4 separate regions of the Homo sapiens genome follow, and regions 1, 2 and 4 are each linked to region 3. Evidence: promoter capture Hi-C in 16 types of primary human blood cells and fetal thymus (Javierre and others, 2016). All regions are on one chromosome and are shown on one strand. Each heading gives the region's core, a stretch centred on a gene start or on the middle of the fragment in contact. The rest is flanking DNA. Distances are from core to core; before and after follow the strand shown. Region 1 has its middle 23 kb from the start of MECP2. Region 2 has its middle 6.5 kb from the start of MECP2. Region 3 holds the start of GDI1 (GDP dissociation inhibitor 1). Region 4 overlaps GAB3 (GRB2 associated binding protein 3).

The links. The method cuts DNA at HindIII sites, captures the fragments that hold promoters and counts their contacts. A CHiCAGO score of 5 or more calls a contact.
Region 1: a fragment that was not itself captured here is called in contact with the fragment with the promoter of GDI1 in region 3 in 7 of 17 cell types (total B cells, naive CD8 T cells, activated CD4 T cells and 4 more); the score reaches 9.9 in total B cells.
Region 2: a fragment that was not itself captured here is called in contact with the fragment with the promoter of GDI1 in region 3 in 3 of 17 cell types (monocytes, naive CD8 T cells and activated CD4 T cells); the score reaches 8.8 in monocytes.
Region 4: a contact is called between a fragment that was not itself captured here and the fragment with the promoter of GDI1 in region 3, in 2 of 17 cell types (M1 macrophages and M2 macrophages). The highest score is 6.5, in M1 macrophages.

What each region holds. Positions count from the first base shown.
Region 1 is chrX:154,117,555-154,123,340 of GRCh38, reverse strand. No RefSeq gene overlaps it. Among named protein-coding and RNA genes, the nearest start is that of MECP2, 23 kb to the right of the region's middle. The HindIII fragment of the contact is 175 bases long and covers 2,493-2,667 here.
Region 2 is chrX:154,101,284-154,107,201 of GRCh38, reverse strand. No RefSeq gene overlaps it. Among named protein-coding and RNA genes, the nearest start is that of MECP2, 6.5 kb to the right of the region's middle. The HindIII fragment of the contact is 9,158 bases long and covers 1-5,918 here.
Region 3 is chrX:154,435,374-154,438,403 of GRCh38, reverse strand. GDI1 (GDP dissociation inhibitor 1) reads right to left here and starts at 1,250. Exons shown (of 11, transcript NM_001493.3): 1 at 1,105-1,250. The coding sequence starts at 1,149. It overlaps ATP6AP1 (ATPase H+ transporting accessory protein 1), which reads right to left. Exons shown (of 10, transcript NM_001183.6): 9 at 2,899-3,030; 10 at 1,888-2,722. The coding sequence ends at 2,513. RefSeq lists an enhancer at 1,218-1,718. The HindIII fragment of the contact is 14,364 bases long and covers 1-3,030 here.
Region 4 is chrX:154,716,816-154,722,145 of GRCh38, reverse strand. The region is part of intron 1 of GAB3 (GRB2 associated binding protein 3); the gene reads left to right. Among named protein-coding and RNA genes, the nearest start is that of GAB3, 32 kb to the left of the region's middle. RefSeq lists an enhancer at 2,498-2,792. The HindIII fragment of the contact is 1,115 bases long and covers 2,297-3,411 here.

The DNA of each region.
Region 1 (5,786 bases), core at 1,331-3,830, 320 kb after region 3:
GAGGTCTGGCAGCCCCCGTGCTACCACTGACCAGGGTGTGAGGGTGGCCCAGGCCTCTAGTGCCCAGCTGGGGTAGCTGCCCAGTCCCCAACTGTGTGGAGAGATTCTCACCGTGGGGAAACTCTAACTTTGAGAGTTTGTCTTAAAAGGCCAGCACTTTTATAGTATCAGAGGTTTGGCCCTACATTTTAAAATGTTTTTCTCTGGTGAGTCTTTGAAGCCAATCAATCAGAATAGTGGTTCCATCAGCTGGGAGAGCCTCAGCATCTTCATTCATTCATTTCCTTTGCAAATGGGCAAAAGTATCCTTTGGGGGAAACTCCTCCCCTTTACTCTAGTTCTAGCTGTACAGAAAAAAAGCCACCATCACCCAGCAGGATCGTCTTTTTTTTTTTAATTTAAAAAAAAATTTAGGGACAAGGTCTTGCTCCGTCACGCAGGCTGGAGTGTAGTGGCATGATTATAGCTGACTCCAGCCTCAAACTCCTGGGTTTAAGTGATCCTCCCACTTCAGCCTCCCAAAGGGTTGGGGTTTACAGGCATGAGCCACCACGCCCAGCCACCCAGCAGAAGAATCTCATCAAACCCTCCAGCATGCTGGAGAGTGTCAAGGAGGCCTCCCCTGAGGACATGAGTCCCTCCCCTGTGACTGTGCCCGGACTGAGGGTCTTTGATGGCTACAGAGTTTCACGGTGTCCCTACAGAGTTGGTCAGCTCAGGAACCCCCAGGTAAGGACTGGCAGGCAGAGGGGCTGCTCCCTACTGTGCACAGCACTACAGAAAGTGTGGATGGAGGATGAGCTGCTATTCAGTGCTGAAGCTTGAAGCTCACACTGGCTCCCACAGCTTCTTCTGCCATCCCATCACCTTATTCCATGCAATCCAATGTATGTATTTTCCTGGGATTTCTCTAGTTATTCAGAGCAGAAGGACCAGCCTCAAGGAGTTCAAGTAGAGGTCAGTCTCATGGGGGCCAGACAGGCCGAGCTGGCCACCACTCACTCGCTTCCCTCCCAGTACAAGACTCAGACCCGCATGACCATGATTGAGATGTCTCGGGTGCCCTCGAGCCACCCCCCCCAGGAGCCAAATTCTTCCCAAGAGTCCATTATCCCGGGGACAGCTGTCTTGTGATCCTGTTCCCTGGAGAACACAGGCACGGAACAAGCCCTGATCCCCTTCGGTGACGACTCAGTAGTGTGCACAGCCAGGAAACCACAGAAGACAGGCAGAACCAGTTCTCCAGCTGTAGCTACAAGTTAACTATAAAAAGACCCCTGGGTCCACAGGGCAGGGCTACTCGGCTGGCTCTGGCCCAGGCTCTTGGGCACAATTCTGGCCACAGACGGGAAGCACAGAGAAGATAACCAATGGTGTCACAAACAGGTTTTCCAAGATTTCAATCTGGGAGACAGGACACTTCATCCAGGCTTCCGGTTTCAAAATTGGAAGACAAATGTCCTAAGGGGTCTTGTCAGTTTTGTATACTGGCACACAGCCATGATTTACAGAAACAGGACTTTTGGTCTCTCACCCTGGAAGACAAGAGGAACTAATCAAAATGGGCCAAAGGACCAGAAACTTCCAGTGGACATCACACTTGGACAGATGAGAGCTTAGAAAGCAGCTCAATTGCTGTGACCAAAGTTCGGCTCCCCCCTCAGTGACAGTCCTCCTGGGAAGGAAGGTAAGAGACTCAAGGAGCCTCTGGGGTCCTGCTGGGACTTCCCAGGCCAGGGCTGTGCTCCAGTGGCAGCTATCCTGAGGCCAGGGACATTGAGGGGAACCTCTAAACAATGGAAACAGCCAAAGAGATGATGAGCGTAGGTCCAAGTGCAGCCAGGCAGCCTGAAAAGAGAAAGGGAAGGTGGAGTTCTCAGGGACAGGCTTCAGAGGAAGAGGAGGGTTTAAATGAGTCTCTTCAGTAGGGCCAAAGCAAGTTCATTTCCCAAGGGCTAAAAGTCTGCCATGTTTTTATGAGTTGTTTGGGTTAAACCTGGGTCATGTTGACCTAGATACATCTCCAAGAAACACCAGATATGGGAATCTTAATAAGAAAGAATGAGCAACATGGTTGTGATCTTCCAACAGAAATACAGTGCAAGAGGCCGGGTGCGGTGGCTCACGCTTGTAATCCCAGCACTTTGGGAGGCCGAGGCGGGTGGATCATGAGGTCAGGAGTTCAAGACCAGCTTGGCCAACATGGTGAAACCCTGTCTCTACTAAAAATACAAAAATTAGCCGGGCGTGATGGTGGGCGCCTGTAATCCTAGCTACTTGGGAGGCTGAGGCAGAGAACTGCTTGAACCCAGGAGGCGGAGGTTGCAGTGAGCCAAGATCGCACCACTGCTCTCCAGCCTGGGCGACAGAGCGAGACTCCATCTCCCCTTCCCCCCTCCCCCTAAAAAAGAAATACAGTGCAAGAAAGTCCAGTTTTTTTCTCATAACAATGTTCTGCTTAAGTTTGGAGAAAATATGCATTTTCTTAAGCTTGAAATAAAGTTTGGCTACTTTTGGATGGGGTCTTTGTGTCATTCCTACGTCAGACACCAATCTATACTGTTGCCAGGAGGATGGCGACATGATTGATGGGAAAAGGAAAAACTTCACACAGGTGACTCCTTAGAGCAGGGAGCAAAGCAGTGACGCCTGTCAGAGGCAGAAGCTTCCCTGGCAGGACTAATGACATTTACAGTCCTCATTGAGAGAAACAAGAGAAAAGGCACATGGAAACTATACTATGAATGGAAAATGGCTATAACCACAGATGCAGACAGGATTTTAAAGTAATGGCTATTGTGAATAACTTTGTGCCAATACATTTGAAAATACAGTTGAAATGAACAAAGTCCTAGAAAAAGAAATTACCAGTATTGACTCAAGAAAAAGCAAAGACCCTAAATAGTCATATAATTATAAATTTTTTGTTAGTAATAAAATATCTTCCGTTCAAACCAAACTCTAGGCCTAGATGACTTCATCAGCAAGATCTATCAAATATTCAAGAAGCAATAGTTCTAATTTTACACAAACTCTTTCAGAGAATTAAGAAAAAGAGGCTCCACTCTTGTTAGAAGGCAAACATAACCTTGAAACCAAAACCTGTCAAGGACATTATGAGAAAGAAAATTATAAGCCAACTTCACTTGTAGGCAGAGATTCAGAAATCCCAAACAGAATACTAGCAATATGTAAAAAAGATAATACATGGTGACTGGACTGGGCACGGTGGCTCACGCCTGTAATCCCAGCACTTTGGGAGGCTGAGGCGGGTGGATCACCTGAGGTCAGGAGTTCAAGACCAGCCTGGCCAACATGGCGAAATCCAGTCTCTACTAAAAATACAAAAAATTAGCTGGGCCTGGTGGCGTGCACCTATAATCCCAGCTACTCGGGAGGGTCAGGCAGGAGAATCGTTTGAACCCAGGAGGTGGAGGTTGCAGTGAGCCGAGATTGTGCCACTGCACTCCAGCCTGGGAGACAGAGCGAGATGCTGTCTCAAAAAAAACCAAACAAAAGGAAAAAAAAAGATAATACATGGTGACCAAGATGTGTTTATCTCAGGAGTGCAAAGTTAGTTTAATAATATAAAATCATTTATTGTAATTAACCAAATTAATGTTAAAGAAGAAAAATTACATGATCAGCAGGGCATGGTGGCTCATGTCAGTAAGCCTAGCACTTTGGGAGGCTAAGGCAGGCAGATTGCTTGAACTCAGGAGTTTGAGACCAGCCTGGTTAACATGGTGAAACCTCATCTCTACAAATAATAGACACACACACACACACACACACACACACACACACACACACACACAAATTGCCGGTGGTGGCACATGCCTGTCATCCCAGCTACTTGGGGAGCTGAGGCAAGAGGATCGCTTGAGCCCAGGAGGTTGAGGCTGCAGTGAGCTGAGATCATGCCACTGCACTCCAGCCTGGGTGATAAAGCGAGACCCTGTCTCAAAAAAAATTAAAAAAAATACCAATTACATGATCACCACAATAAGCACAGAAAAAGCACTGGATAAAATTCAATATCCATTCATGATTACAAAGAAAAGTCAGGAGCCTAGGAATTAAAATGAACTTCCTTAGCAAAGGATTTATTAAAATAGTTATAGCATCATCATATTTAATGACAAAAAGTTGAAAGCATCCCCTGGAGATCATAAACAAGAAAAGGCCAGCGCAGTGGCTCACGCCTGTAATCCCAGCACTTTGGGAGGCTGAGGCGGGTGGATCAGTTGAGGCCAGGTGTTCGAGACCAGCCTGGCCAACATGGTGAAACCCCGCCTCTACTAAAAATACAAAAGTTAGCTGGACGTGGTGGCACACGCCTGTAATCCCAGCTACTTGGGAGGCTGAGGCAGGAGAATCACTTGAACCCGGGGGGTGGAGGTTGCAGTGAGCCGAGATCTCGCCACTGCACTCCAGCCTAGGTGACAGATTGAGACTGTCTGAAAAAAAAAAAAAAAGAGAAAGAAAGAGAAACTGTAAAAAAAGGAAAAGGAAGGAAGCTGTACCTCTACTTCACACCATTACAAAAATCAATTTTACACAGATTGAAAACCTAAATATGAAGGGCAAAACGATGAATCTTTAAGAATAAAATGAGAATAGCTCCATTACTAGGGGTAAGCAAATGGTTGCATGGGTGTTCAATTTAGAATTGTTCTTTAAACTGCGCAATATATTTGATGCACTCTATTTCAAACAGCCTTATCAAGGTATAGCCTACATAAAACAAAGTGTGTGTTGCTTAAAGTATACAGAGGCTGGGTGTGGTGGCTCACACCTGCAATCTCAGCACTTTGGGAGGCTGAGGCAGGAGGATTGCTTGAGGCCAGGAGTTTGAGACCAGCCTGGGCAACAAACATAGGGAAGCCTAGTTGCTACAAAAAATTTAAAAACTAGCCAGGCATTGTGGCATGCACTTGTGGCCCCAGCAACTTGGAAGGCCAAGGCAGGAGGATCACTTGAGCCCAGGAGTTCAAGGTTACGGTAAACTATGATTGCCACTGTACTCCAGCCTGGGAGACAGAGTGAGACCTATCTCTAAAATAATGATAATAATAAAGTATATAATTTTGCTGGGCACCGTGGCATGCGCCTGTAATCCCAGCTACTCCGGAGGCTAAGGCAGGAGGATTGCTTGAGCCCAGGAGTTTAAGACCAGCCTGGGCAACAAACATAGGGAAGCCTGGGCAACATAGTGAGACCCCCATCTCTAATTTTAAAAAATAAATAACATAAAGTATACCATTTGGTCCATTTTGACACAGGTATGCACCCTTAAAACCACCACAATCAAGGTAATGAACATAGCTATCAACCCTAAGAGCTTCCTCCTGCATCTCTGTAAATCCTCCCTCCCAACACTCCCCGTATCCCAATCTCCGGGCAACCCCGATCAGCTTTCTGTCACTATAGATTAGTTTGTATGTTCTAGAGTTCCATATAATCATACAGTATATCCTCTCAATGTGGCCTCTTTCAGTGTAATTATTTTGACATGCATTTAGGTAGTTGCCTGCTTGAATATCATATTCCTTTTGGTTGCTGAATAGTATTCCTTTGCATGGATGTACCACAATTTATCATTCACCCTCTGAAGGACGTTTGAGTTGTTTCCAGTCAGAACTACTACAAATAAAGCTGCTATGAATATAAAAATTCACAGAGAGGTTAATTCTGGGTCGAGAATGCAGATTGAACAGTAAAGCTGTAGTAAAGCAGCTTTGGGGAGAAAAAAAGGGGCATAACTCGACATGAATGGGAAGGGC
Region 2 (5,918 bases), core at 1,532-4,031, 330 kb after region 3:
CGCCCAGGCTGGAGTGCAGTGGCGCTATCTCGGCTCACTGCAACCTCCGCCTCCCGGGTTCACGCCATTCTCCTGCCTCAGCCCCCGAGTAGCTGGGACTACAGGCACCCGCCACCACGCCCGGCTAAATGTTTGTATTTTTTAGTAGAGATGGGATTTCACTGCGTTAGCCAGGATGGTCTCGATCTCCTGAACTCGTGATCCGCCCGCCTTGGCCTCCCAAAGTACTGGGATTACAGGCGTGAGCCACGGCTCCTTGCGGATCATAACTTTCTTGTATAGTTCTTTCCTTCTGGTATTTTTAATTGCTTTTCCTTATTTTCTTGTACTATTTGCCATCATCGTATCCAACTTCAGACTCCCAATCACACCATCTAATATGTTGAATTCACATATACACAATTTTTTTTTTTTTTTTTTTTGAGACGGAGTCTCACTCTGTCGCCCAGGCTGGAGTGCAGTGGCGCAAGCTCGGCTCACCGCAACCTCTGCCTCCCAGGTTCAAGCGATTCTCCTGCCTCAGCCTCCTGAGTAGCTGGGATTACAGGCACCCGCCACCATGCCCGGCTAATTTTTGTATTCTTAGTAGAGACGGGGTTTCGCCACGTTGGCCAGGCTGGTCTCGAGCTCCTGACTTCAGGTGATCCACCCGCCTCAGTCTCCCAAAGTGCTGGGATTACAGGCGTGAGCCACCACACCCGGCTATACATATATATTTAATTCTTGGAGTCCTCTCTCCCAGAGCCTACCATTCTCCTACTCCAACCTGGACTGATTGCCAACCAGGCTTTCTGCCCAGTTGGCATCCCTGGTATTTCCCATCACAGCTCTCCTGGATTAGATCCATTGTCTTATGGATCCCACATTTTCCTTTTTCTTGGCTTGCACCCTTGATTTGCTGCAGAGCATCCCCAAGTAGCTTCCTAAGAAAGTACATTTCAGAGGCAAATTTTCTTAGCTCTTGTGTATCTAAAAACATTTTTATTCCATTATCACACATAATGGATATTTTGGATGGTGTACTTCTATGTGGAAAATCATTTTCCCTTGGAATTTGGAAAGCATTGCCCTATTATCTTTTTCTTTTCTTGTTGTCCTGTGATCTTTTATCATTCAGTGTTGTTATGAACTCTGGTGCTACTCTGATTCCTGTTCCTTTTTCTTTATTTCATTTTTCCATAATTCTTGTTAGTTGCTTGCCAGACTTCCTAGATCACTCCTCAAAGTCCTCATATTTTCTCTCATATCTTTGTCTCTATTGTTTTGTTCTATTTTCTGGGAGACTTCTTCAGTTTTATTTTCCAATATTTCTATTGAAATTTGAATTTCAATAATTCCTTCTTGTTCTCTGATTGCTCTTTTTACATAATATTCTGTTCTTGTTTTATGAATACAGCATTTTCTTTTAGTTCTGTAGATATGTTAATTAAATTAAATTTTTTGATACATTCCCTGAATTTTCTTGAATTCCAAGTTTATATTTTTTCTACAGGTTTATCTTGACTCTTTTTCCTGTTGAAGGCTTTCATCAAATTTCTGATAATATTTACTGACTGGTTTATATTTAATAAGGAAGGACTGGATAAGTATTGTGGATTTAATCTGCTGTTGGGCAAATAGGTCTGTTTTCCTGCTGTGACTCTTCTCTGTGTAGGACAGGGAGGTGACGAACAGAGTATCCCCTAGATGCCGGAATGAGGAAACAATTGTTCAGGGGTTGTCAGCATCCATGCTGGAAGCCTTAGCTCTCCACCGACATTTCAATCAATTTCTTTACAGAACTGTCAGGTGTTTTCCCTGTAGGTCTGTGCCAGCTCCCAGCTCAGCTGTCTGGTGGGGAGAGGAGGTTCCAACTGGTACAGTCATTCTGTACTGGTGCCTTCAATTAATCCCCATGTGTTCAGTCCTATTTAATTCTATCGTTTTCTACCACATGCCTACTGATTCTGATTGTCTGGTGTTATATCTAGCAAACTCACTCCCACTTCTTCTGTGGCTCCCTTGTCAAATATTCTCACCTGGATTTTTACTGCCTATTTTATTCATCAATCAATTCCCATATGCTTTCTATAAAGTTGTTGTCCTTTGATGATAACCTCTCATCCTCACCACATTCTCTTCACTCTGGTGGGTTTATTCCTTTCCTTTTTTTTTTTTTTTCAGACGGAGTCTTGCTCTGTCACCCAGGCTGGAGTGCAATGGCACGATCTCGGCTCACTGCAACCTCTGCCTCCTGGGTTCAAGCGATTCTCCTGCCTCGGCCTCCCAAGTAGCTGGGATTACAGGTGCGTGCCACCAGGCCTGGCTAATTGTTTGTATTTTTAGCAGAGGCAGGGTTTCACCATGTTGGCCAAGCTGGTCTCGAACTCCTGACCTCAAGCAATTCACCCTCCTTGGCTTCCCAAAGTGCTGGGATTACAGGCATGAGCCACCACACCCTGCCTCCTTTCTGTTTCTTGACATTCTTCTTTTAGTGCACTTCTATGAGTAAAGAAGGAAAACTGTGTGTGTGTGTGTGTGTCTGTGTCTGTGTGTCTGTGTGTGTGTCTGTGTGTCTGTGTATGTGACTGTGTGTGTGTGTCTGTGTGTCTGGGTGTGTGTGTGTTCATGCACATCTGTGCCTGCTCATGGTGTCTTATATCAGAATTTATTCATTTCTTATCTATTTTCTAACAAATATGGTTAAGGCTATTAATTTTTCTAGGTGACCTCTGTAGCCTTATCTCCTAGGTTTTAATATGTAGGGCTCTCAATGTTGGTCATTTCTTTTGTTTTTAGAGACAGGGGCTTGCTCTTTCTCCCAGGCTGGAGTGCAGTGGCATGATCCCACCTCAGCCTGTTGAGTAGCTAGGACTACAGGTGCGCACGTGCCCAGCTAATTTATTTCATTTTTGGGAAAAACGGGGTCTCACTTTGTTGCCCAGGCTGATCTCGAACTCCTGGGCTCAAGCGATCCTCCTGCCTTGGCCTCCCAAAGTGCTGGGATTACAGGCATGAGCCAGCGCCCCTGGCCTGGATTAGCTCTTCTGAAATATATATATTCTCTATCAGTTTAAGAGATTTTTAGACAAATGGAGTAAAAGTTTGTGTTGTTTGTCATATTGATAAAATCCTTCTGGTTGTGGGCTTTCTGTCAATTACCATCTATACTAGATTTTCCTGGTTTTTATCTTCTACAGTCCTGTTTTTAAGAGGACCTTAAACTATTACAGTCCCATTTTTTAAATTACTGATTTTTAATTCTAATAGTAAATAATTTTGATTATAGTATATTTTTCTTTTTTTTCTTTTTTTTGAGATGGAGTCTTGCTCTGTTACCCGGGCTGGAGTGCAGTGGCACGATCTCGGCTCACTGCAAGCTCCGCCTCCTGGGTTCACCCCATTCTCCTGCCTCATCCTCCCAAGTAGCTGGGACTACAGGCGCCCACCACCACACCCGGCTAATTTTTTGTATTTTTAGTAGAGACGGGGTTTCACCTTGTTAGCCAGAATGGTCTCGATCTCCTGACCTCGTGATCTGCCCGCCTCGGCCTCTCAAAGTGCTGGGATTACAGACGTGAGCCACCATGCCCAGCCGATTATAGTATATTTTTCTACTTTTCAATGGCAAGTGTGAAACTGTATAACTTAAGTTCCTTCTATTCAACCTAAGGAATTTAGCAAGATTCTCTTCATTATTTTTTAATATTTCAAAAACTTCTTGAGTTCTAGTCTTGTACATTATTCTTTCCAATCTAGATTTAAGTTGTTATAGCCCATGAAACTTCTTGACTTTTGATTGAGCAAAGAATTTCCAGAGTTATTGATGAAGAATTAACATTTCTATAATGTTAATGCTTCCCCTCCAGGAATACGGTAGCGTCTGTTTTTGTTTTTGTTTTCTTCAGGTCTTCTTTTAGATTTTTCAGTAAAGTTTTATAGCTTTTTGATGCAGGTTTTGACATTTCTTATTAAGTTTATTCCCAGCTGTTTTATAATTTTTGTAGTGAGAGTGAGTTGAATCTTTTTTCCCTCATTACATTTTCCAGCTTTTTATTACTGGTCGTGTTTACATGCCTGCATCCTAACACCGGGGAACTGACTTGAAATGGGCCTTTCTCCCCGCAGAGACGCACCAAGAATGAGGTTTAAAAGAGAATGGAAGAAGGATGTATGTGGGGCTTTTTATTTTTGTTTTTTAATTGACACATATTTAGGGAGTACAATTTGATATTTCAATATATATTTATGTTGCACAATGGTCCAAGCAGGGTAGTTAATATATCCATCAGCTCATGCATGTACCATTTCTTTGTTGTGGGAACTTTCAAAAGTCTCTCTTCTAGGTATTTTGTAACATACAATATATTGCTGTCAACCATAGTCACCCTGCTGTGCAATAGAACAACATAATTTTTTTTTTTGAGACAGAATCTCGCTGTGTCACCCAGGCTGGAGTGCAGTGGTGTGATCTCAGCTCACCAGGTTGCTCTGCCTCCTGGGTTCGAGCGATTCTCCTGCCTCAGCCTCCCAAGCAGCTGGGACTATAGGCACCCGCCGCCATGCCCAGCTAATTTTTGTATTTTTAGTAGAAATGGGGTTTCACCATGTTGGCCAGGCTGCACTCAAGCTCCTGACCTCAAGTGAGTCACCCACCTCAGTCTCCCAAAGTGCTGGGATTACAAGCGTGAGCCACTGCACCTGGTCAAAACACCAGAATTTATTCATCTTATCTAATAATAACTTTGTACCTGTTGACCAACCTCTGCCCATCCTCCTCTCCCCGATCCTCTCCCCAGTCTCTGGTAACTACTGTTCTACTCTCTGCTTCTATGATATCAACTCTTTTTTGTTTTTGAGATTCCACATATGACTGAGATCATGTGGTATTTGTCTTTCTGTTTCTGGTTTATTTCCCTTAACTTTATGTCCTCCAGGTTCATTCATGTTGTCTTAAGTGACAGGATTTCATTCTTTTTTATGGCCGAATATTATTCCATTGCATATATGTACCACATTTTCTTTATCCATTCACCTGTTGGTGGACACCTAAGTTGATTCTGTATCTGGCTATTGTGAATAGTCATTCAATAAAAATGGGAGTGCAGATAACTCTTCCACATACTGATTTCATTTCCTTTGGATATATACCGGTAGTAGGATTGCTGGTAGTTCTATTTTCAATTTATTGAGAAACCTCCATACTGTTCTCCATAGTTGACTATACTAACTTACTACCCCACCAACAGTATGAAAGTATTCCCTTTTCTCCACATCTTTGCCAACTTGTCTTCTTTTGTCTTTTTGATTAAAGCCATTCTAACTGAATTGAAGGGGTATCTCATTGGGCTTTTGATTTGAATTTCCCTGATGATGAGTGATGTTGAACTTTTTTTCCCCTCCCTCCCTCCCTCCCTTCCTTCTCTTTCTTTTTTCGAGACAGGGTCTCACTCTGTCACCCAGGCCAAAGTGCAATGGCACGATCCTGGCTCATTGCAGCCTCAAACTCCTGGGCTCAAGTGATCCTCCCACCCCAGCCTCCCAAGAAGCTGAGATGACAAGTGTGCACAACCATGCCTGGCTAATTTTTTGTTTTTTTAGAGACAGTGGTCTTGCCATGTTAACCAGGCTGGCCTTGAACTCCTGGACTCAAGTGATCTTCCCACCTCGGCCTACCAAAGTGCTGGGATTACAGGTGTGAGCCAAGGTGCCTGGCGAGATTTTTCCCATATACCTGTTGGTCATTTAAATGTTTTCTTTTGAGAAATGTCTATTCAGGTTTTTTGCCCTCTCCTAACCTTTTATTTTATCTATCTATCTATCTGTCTGTCTGTCTGTCTGTCTATCTATCTATCTATCTATCTATCTATCCATCCATCCATCCATCCATCCATCCATCCATCTATTTCGAGATGGAGTCTCGCTCTGTCACCCAGGCT
Region 3 (3,030 bases), core at 1-2,500:
CTGGCTAGTTGCCTCGCCTAAAATTGGGGTGATGGCTTCATCCGACCACACTCTCCATTGCAACCTTGCTGGGCAAAGGAGTCCCGTCCCCCTCACAAGGCGGAGAGTGAAATAACGGAGGCTTTGAGGGAGGCAGGGCATCCAGCAGACACAGGATGGCCTTCCAGTACCAACACGCCGAGAGGCATCTACCTACGCAGAGCCGCACAAAAAGGCGGATAAAACACAATAAGGCACAGAGAAGACCCAGCTGGACTGCAAAGGACACTCGAAAGGGAGGAAAAGAAAGGCTTAGCACAGTCCTTGAAATTGTAGGCCCCACCCTGGACTGCTCTTTCTTCAAATAGCAGGAGCCCCTGCCGCTGAGGAGGGGCATCTGGGCCTGGACCGAGGAAGAAGAGTCTCTGAGGGGAGTAGGCCAACGGGGTTTTCGGGGAAAGGGGGAAGATAAACACCCTCACCAGTCACTGTCACTAGCCCAAGGACAAAGGCTGCAGATGCTACCCAGCCTGAGGTCTCCATGGGCAACCGAGGTGGGGTTGCGGGAATGTGCTTACTGCCCCCACTGCTGTTCCTTCTGGAACATTCCCTGGATCCCCTGGCCCCAGAAGACGATGAGGAGGCGGGCTGAGGGCCCACTCTGGCGAGGCCCCCTGACCCCAGGTCCTTCTACTTCATCCCCACCGGGATTAGCGCAAGATGGGAACGGACGCTGAGAGGCAACGCTAGGCGGGCAATGGGTGCGGGCGACGGGTGGATGCCGTGATGGGTGGGGGCGATGGGTGGGCGGGGTCGTGGGCATCGGGCCGAGTGGGGGTGCGTTTTCCGGTCCAGCGGGCAGGGGTAGGGAAGATGGGAGGGCGCCGGGGGTCGGACCCGGGTAGCCCAGGAGGCGGCCAGGAAGGGGGCCTCTTCGGGGAGATGGGGTCATGGCAACGAGCAGAGGCGACGTCGCTGGGGGAGCAGCGGGGTGGGCACGGCGCCGGCTTTTCGGGGAGCGGAGCGCAGAAGATGGCAGTGACCAGAGGATGGGCCGGCGGCCGCATCATCGCGGGGGATGGCGAGGGCACGACGCAGGGCCAGGGGCGCCGGGGCCGCACTTACGGTGAGACCGGTCCCCAGCACGATCACATCGTATTCCTCGTCCATGGTCAGGCCTCGGTGCCAGCGCCCGCTCGGCTCCTCCTCCTCCTTCACCGCAGCAGTCGCCGCCGCCACCGCCGCCGCCGCCACCGCACTGGACCAAAGATGGCGGCGCGTCGGCCGTCGCCCGACCCCTCCGCCGCGTCAAAGAGTCCCGCCTCTTCCCGCGCCCCGCCGCAACCGGCAGGGGCCACCGCCTCCCCGGCTCGCCTCCCGGGAGGGCTGCCAGGGCCCGGGCCACAGCACCAGCGCGGCTCCGCGGGCGACGCTGCTCGCCGAGAGTCTAGAGAGGCGCGGGGCGGGGCGGGCGGGGCGGGCCGGCGGCCGGTGCTGCGGCCCAGGAAGAATCCGTGCGCGGGAGCCGCGCGCGCCCCGCCCCACCCGCCGCGCCCCGCCCCGCCCCGCCCCGCGCGCGCCCGCCCACCTCCCCACCCCCGCCCACCCCCCCGGGAGTCTCGGCGCGGCCCCGCGGCCGGGCGCGCGCCGCTGCGGCAGCCTGGGGCGGCCCCCTCACGACGCGAAGGCTGCCATTGTCACGACGGCCTCCTGAGACGCCGAAGCGCACCGGGACTCGGCCCGACCGCCCCTCCCTACCCTGAGCGGTTAGGGCCCAGCTTGCTAAAGCCCCTCCCGGTCTCCGCGGATGCCTCTTCGCCTCCCCCTCGCCAGGCTCCATCCTCCCGCATCCCTCCGGCGAGCACGCGCCTAAAGCCCAGCGCAGAAATGAGCGACAAGAGGCCCAACGCATGGCGACCCGCGTTTATTTTATTAGGAAGGAAACAACCAAGCACCCCATGCTCCTGCCCGGCACTCCCGGTGGGAACATGCCAAACAGCCGGCGATCGCACCCAGCCCACCTGTCGTGGAGGTCCCTTCCTTCTCAGGCCACAGAAATAAACCCGTGTACTTCTTATTGTTAGCACAACATCACCAGAAAACGATAACGACAGCCAAGCAGGACAGACAGTTAAGTAGTACTTCCACACTCCCAAACTCAGGGAGCCCTATAACCTTAAGGAGGGAGCATTTGCTACACAAAAGCACTATCCACAGCCAGGGATGATGTAGCCACAAGAATAAATAAGGAGAAAGGAGACCCTAGAATTCATGTCCCTTACGCCTCACAGCGACGAACCCTGGGAAGCTGGTTGGTCTAGCATCTACGCAGAATATGTACACCTTGTTGGGAGAGATGGGGGCAGCCCAAGAAAGCTCCTCAGCGGGCTGAAGAGGGAGCAAGATGGGCTGAGGGGAGCTTGCAGTTCATGCTGCAGTAGGAAGAGGGAAGCTCTTCAGTCCAGTGCGCTGCAGGGTGGGAAAGCAACAACACGGACACCGTCCCACCCTCAACCCCCCCACTGGCACAGGGTCACACAATCTGGGTCAAAGAAATAGTGGGGCCCTTGTGGTCATCAAAGCGATCCATGGTCTTGAGGCTGAGGATCATGTGCAGGCCATAGGTGAAGATGAAGAGCATGAACAGGGAGGTGAGCAGCCCCATCCAGATGCCGGGGGAGAAGAAGCTGGCACAGTCGCTGGCGTAGGAGAACTGCTCCCCCATTACGTTGAAAGCCTGGATCTGGCAGACACACAGACACGGGTCAGAAAGGACCGTTGGGAGGCCCAGCAAGAACTGGGACAGGGGCAGCGCAGGGACAGGACTCTCAACTACATGCCCAAGCCCAAGCCTCTCTTCGTCTCTCAACCACTAGCCTGGGCTCCCCCACCTGAAGCTGGGCCACGCCCGCTCCATACCTGGAAGTCCTGAAGCATCATCTGCCAGGGAGAGGGCTGCGTGCGGGCCACGAGGAGACTACCCTTCTTGCTCAGGCTGCTGACATACTCGCAGTGGAAGGAGTAGATGCTGGGCCCTGTGACCTGGGAAGC
Region 4 (5,330 bases), core at 1,605-4,104, 280 kb before region 3:
ATCTATCTTTTTGCAAATGGCAGGATCTCCTTCCTTTTTAAGGATGAATAATATTTCATAGTGTGATGCGATGCACATGCCACAATATCTTTATCCACTTATCTGTCAACAGACACCTAGGTTGTTTCCATATCTTGGCCATTGTAAATTAATGCTGCACTGATCATGGGAGTGCAGATATCTTTATGAGAGGGTGATTTCACTTCCTTTGGGTCTATACTCAGAAGAGGGTCTGCTGGGTCAGGGTCTGCTGGGTCATGTGGTAGGTCTAATTTCAACTTCCTTAGGAACCTCCATAGTGTTTTCCATAAGGGTTGTATGAATCTACATTCCCACCAACAGTATACTAGGGTTTCCTTTTCTCCACACCCTCACCAACACTTGTTATCGCTTGTCTTTTTGATAATTGCCATTCTGATGAATATGAAGTGATATCTCATTGTGGTTTTCATTTGCATTTCCTTGGTGATTAGTGATATCGAGCATCTTTTCATATACCTGTTGCTATACTTGAATGTGTCCTCCAAAGTTCATGTGTTGGAAACTTAATCCCTAATGCAACAGTGTTGGGAGGTGGGACCTTTAAGAGATGGTTAGGTCATGAAGTCAGCCCTCATGAATGGGTTTCTGTCAGTGTCAAGGGAGTGGGTTTGTTATCAAGAGAGTGGGTTTGTTCTAAAAGTAAGTTCAGCTCTCTCTTGCTCTTGCGTGCACTCGCTTGCCCTTCTGCCTTCTGCTATGGGGTGACACAGCAAGCAGATCCTCACCAGATGCTGAGCAGATGCTGGTGCTATGCCTTTGGACTTGCCAGTCTCCAGAACCATGAGCAAAATAAACTAATATTGTTATAAATTATCCAATCTCAGATATTCTGTTATGGCAAAAGAAAATGGACTAAGATACCTGCTAGACATTTTTATGTCTTCATTGGAGAAATGTCTGTTCAGATCCTTCACCCATTTTTTGTTTCTTTTTCCGCAATTGACTTGTAAGAGTTCTTTGTAAATTTTGAATATTAACCCCTTAATGTAGTTTGCAAACATTTTTTCCCAGTACATAGGTTGCCTTTTCATTTTATTGATTGCTTCCTTTCCTGTGCTTTTCTTTTTCTTATAACCTATCCATTGAAGAACCTGGGCTTTTGACCTGTAGAGTTTTCTACAGGCTGGCTTCTGCTGATTGCACCCTCATATCAGGCTATCAGAGGCACAAAATGTCTGATTGTTTCTTTTCCCAAGTTAGCAGCTGTTGATGCTTAATGGCTATACCTATTAATTCACTGGGGCTAGCAAATAGGGATATTCTAATTCTGTCATTTGTTTTTCCATTACTGATCAGAATACATTCATAAAGAGACATTCCCTTCATCTACCCAAGTGGGACAGTTCACGTAGAGGAAAGGTTGGATAATGCTTGATTCTTCCCTTTTACTTAAGTAGTTTTCAAGGAAATGAAGTAGTTCCCTTACATCCTCTGAAGATGACAAATTCTTTTGCTTTTTTTTTTTTTTTTTTTTTTTGAGACGGAGTCTCGCTCTGTCGCCCAGGCTGGAGTGCAGTGGCGCGATCTCGGCTCACTGCAGGCTCCGCCCCCCGGGGTTCACGCCATTCTCCTGCCTCAGCCTCCCGAGTAGCTGGGACTACAGGCGCCCACTACCTCGCCCGGCTAATTTTTTGTATTTTTATTAGAGACGGGGTTTCACTGTGTTAGCCAGGATGGTCTCGATCTCCTGACGACAAATTATTTTTCTAATATCATAATGAACTCATGGATTTAAGTGTATTTGATGGATTTCAAGCTACTATAATTATTACACAATCATGCATCATTCAATGACGGGCATATGTTCTGAGAAATGTGTCATTAGGTGATTTAGTCACTTTGCAAACATCACAGGGTGTACTTACACAAACCTAGCTTACTACACACCTAGGCTATATGTTATAGCCTGTTGCTTCTGGGCTACAAACCTGTACAGTATGGTACTATATTGAATACTGTAGGCAATTGTAACACAATGGTAGGTATTTGTGTATCTAAACATAGAAAAGGTACAATAAAAATATGGTATTAAATCTTTTGGGATTCAGATGTCTCGGAGGATTGAAAAAAAATCTTATAGGACCACCATTGTATATTTGGTTCATTGTTACTATTATGTCATGCAGCATATGACTATTTATGAAAGCAAAAATTCTTTCATATATGGCCAGTGGTAGCCTCTTCAGGTTAGCCCCTAAGTCCTTTTGACATGGCCCTCGTCATTCCTTGTGGCATTGTTTCACTGTAAAAAGCTTCACTTTAGTGCTGGCAGACTGACTGCTTTCAGGGGCTTTGTCACATGTCTTCCATTTTCCAGAAGCCTGTAAGCCTGGTGGAACAGAACTATATGTGGCCTCTGGTTTTACCTACTTAGCAAAGAGCTCCAAGAACACCTCACTTCTGTTTTTGCATAATCAAAACTCTTATGTAGAGATTTAAAAACCTAAGGGATGACACACTGGCGATTTTGCATGATTCAGCATCAAGACTATGCTACGTCCTATTTAAGTTACTGTGTGACTGTTCTTTTTCCTTTCCACCCTCATGCCTGCCTTCCAGCCCTGCTGAACTACTTACGCAAAGTTTTGAGCCTTTCCACCTTAATGCCTTTGTGCACGCTGCTTCCTCCTGCCCCACTTTAGCCTTAGCTTAGTCACCACTTCTTCCTGGAAGCCTCCCCAGACAACTGATCTGAGAGAGATGTCTCTTTTGTTTGTTCCCATAGCATCTTGGTTTTGCCTTATCGTAGCACTTATCTCACTGATTGCAATCGTCTGTTTATCCATCTGCTCACTCCCTTGTTGCCCATGAGACTGTGAGTGGCAGGGCATGTGGCTTGCTCACTTCATCTTCCCCAGTATCTGCACAGTGTCCAGCATATTAGTGGGCTATCAACAGGTAATTGTTGAATGAATGGATAAAGCCCAAACTTCTTCATGTCACTCTTCCCATTGCACTCCCACCACTCCTGGTTCATTCTTCTGCTAGACCGCTCACTACGCTGAGTTGAAATCTACCCATATCATAATTCTACCCTTCTCCCTATCCCAGCTAGAGAGTGAGGTCTTTTAGGGACCAGCTCTAATCCCCTTTTCTAGCTTCATTGTCTAGCAGGATGCACAGTGCAGAGTAGGCACTCAAATAAACTCTTGGTGTTACTTCTCTTCCAATATTGTTATTAAAAGATAAGAAATCTATTGTCTCCATAACACTAAGAGCGGTTAATGTGAAACTTGTTTCTGTGCTTAGTTTGACTTCCTCTTTTAGAATCATTTTTGGGAAGTGCAACAAAGTTCCTCTTTACATTTCCCCCACCAAAGTGGCTTTTGGAAAGTTTGGAGCACCCCATGCTCCCTCCCCATGAAAGCTTTCCTCAGCAGGCACAAATGGCATTCTCTCATCCCCTGAGCCCCTTCCCTGGACTAGGCCTTATGTTCCTGTTTGCCTCAGTTGATGCCAGAAGCCCAGGTTTCCCACTTTCAAACCCCACAGCAAAACTTGAGCTCCTTCTCTTATGTTTAGTGGCTCTACTCCCATCCAGTGCCACGTTTTTGCAACAGGAATTTACTGAATCAATTTTTCTCTCCCTCTTGGGTCACCCCCACGAGCATACAAACATGCTGTTATTTTTCCTGTCTTAAAAACATGGACTTAATCACACCACGTTGTTTGTCTCCTGAGATGGTCTCCTTGTTTGACTCATGGCCAGACCTCTTTTCAAAGCTTTATACTGTCTGTAAAGGCAGGAGCAAACCAGGGTTCACCTGCCCCAACCTGACATGGAGTGACTGCCTTCCTTCTGCTTGCTGCCCCTTGCCTCAGTCCTGGAAGGGCTTTTTATTCTAAGGCATAATTGGAGGTCAGTGCTTCTTTGGATTCTCTGCCATCTCAGATTCATGTTCTCTGAGCAGGGAGGGAGCTGAGAATACTCCAAATAGTGTCTTTTCCTTTTTCCCTGGCCTCTTGGTCAAAGCTGGTGGGCTTAAAAAGTATCACACATAAATGAAGCTAGAGATACAAAAGACTTCCTGTCCCAGGGGTCGCTGTACCTCCTGGCAGAACCCCACACTTCCTGCTGTCACACATGCTACCGCATGGGAGAGAAAAACCACAGAGCTATAAATCTCCCTGCGGTCAGCCGTCATCCTTCTCTGTGCTCAATTCCCAACTGGGGCTAATGCCATAGTTCCCTACCGCAGAAAGTAAGGATACGCTATCCATGCAGGCTGGCCTATCTGGCCCTTCGATGAACAAAGGGCACCTAAATGTAAGACAAGGAACTCAAACATTTCCTTCCCCCTGGCTCCATGAGAGGGCAGGGAGGTTTACAGATCCAGGGGACTCCCTAGGGCTTTGGTCAATTGTAAATACCTCTTTCCCCAGGCCAGAGATCTGCACCCTTTCTTTGTACTGAGCCAAGATGGTACTGTCTACATCAAAAATTCTAAGTCAATGGTGAGTGGGAAGCCAAGGAGCCCTAGGTCATTCTCAGTTGTTCTCAGGGCACAAAAAGAGACCTGTCAAATCTTGGCACTGGTTTCTGTGGAATATCATTCTCTTTTCTTTTCTGAGCATGGACTGAGCTTTACCTGTTCATCTGACTTCCAGGCTTGGCTCTTTCCAAGATTCCTATTCCATTAAGGAAAATTCCTTTTTGTTTTTACAGTGTTTCAAAACAGGGGCACTGATAGCTTTAGGCCAATCCTGCCATGCCCCACCCCCCACTCCATCTCCAGCCTTTATAACAAGCAAAACCCACATATTTTCAGATGCTCCCGAGAGGAATTATACCATCCCTGGTTGAAAAACACTGTGACTTAGGGGGTGAATGCTTAAGAGTCTCCCATCTTTAAAAAATCCCTTGACCCCAGAGCTTTCCCCCTTTACAGTCAGATGTTTCTGGAGAGCTGGCTACACTTCCTCTCTCTCTTTATTTTTTAACTTCACATCCATTACCGATCCTTCCATCCCAACCTGAGTTCAAATTCATTCCTACAGTTGTTTAGCTATGTGACCTTGAGCACATTACTTAATCTCTCTGAACCTCAATTTTATCAGACATAAGATGGAGATAGTAATAGTTACCCCTCCCATAGTATAGTTTTAGGGATTAAATGGGTTACAGTAAAGCGCTTAGACAAGGGTCTCTTACATAGGAAGTGTAACTAGCCAAGCTAGTTAATTCTCTGAGAATTCTATTAGTGTTTTAATCATCATTGGGGGTTTTATGGAAGACAATTTGTCACCTTCAGACACTGGCAATCTTCTCTCCTCCTCTCCAATGTGTA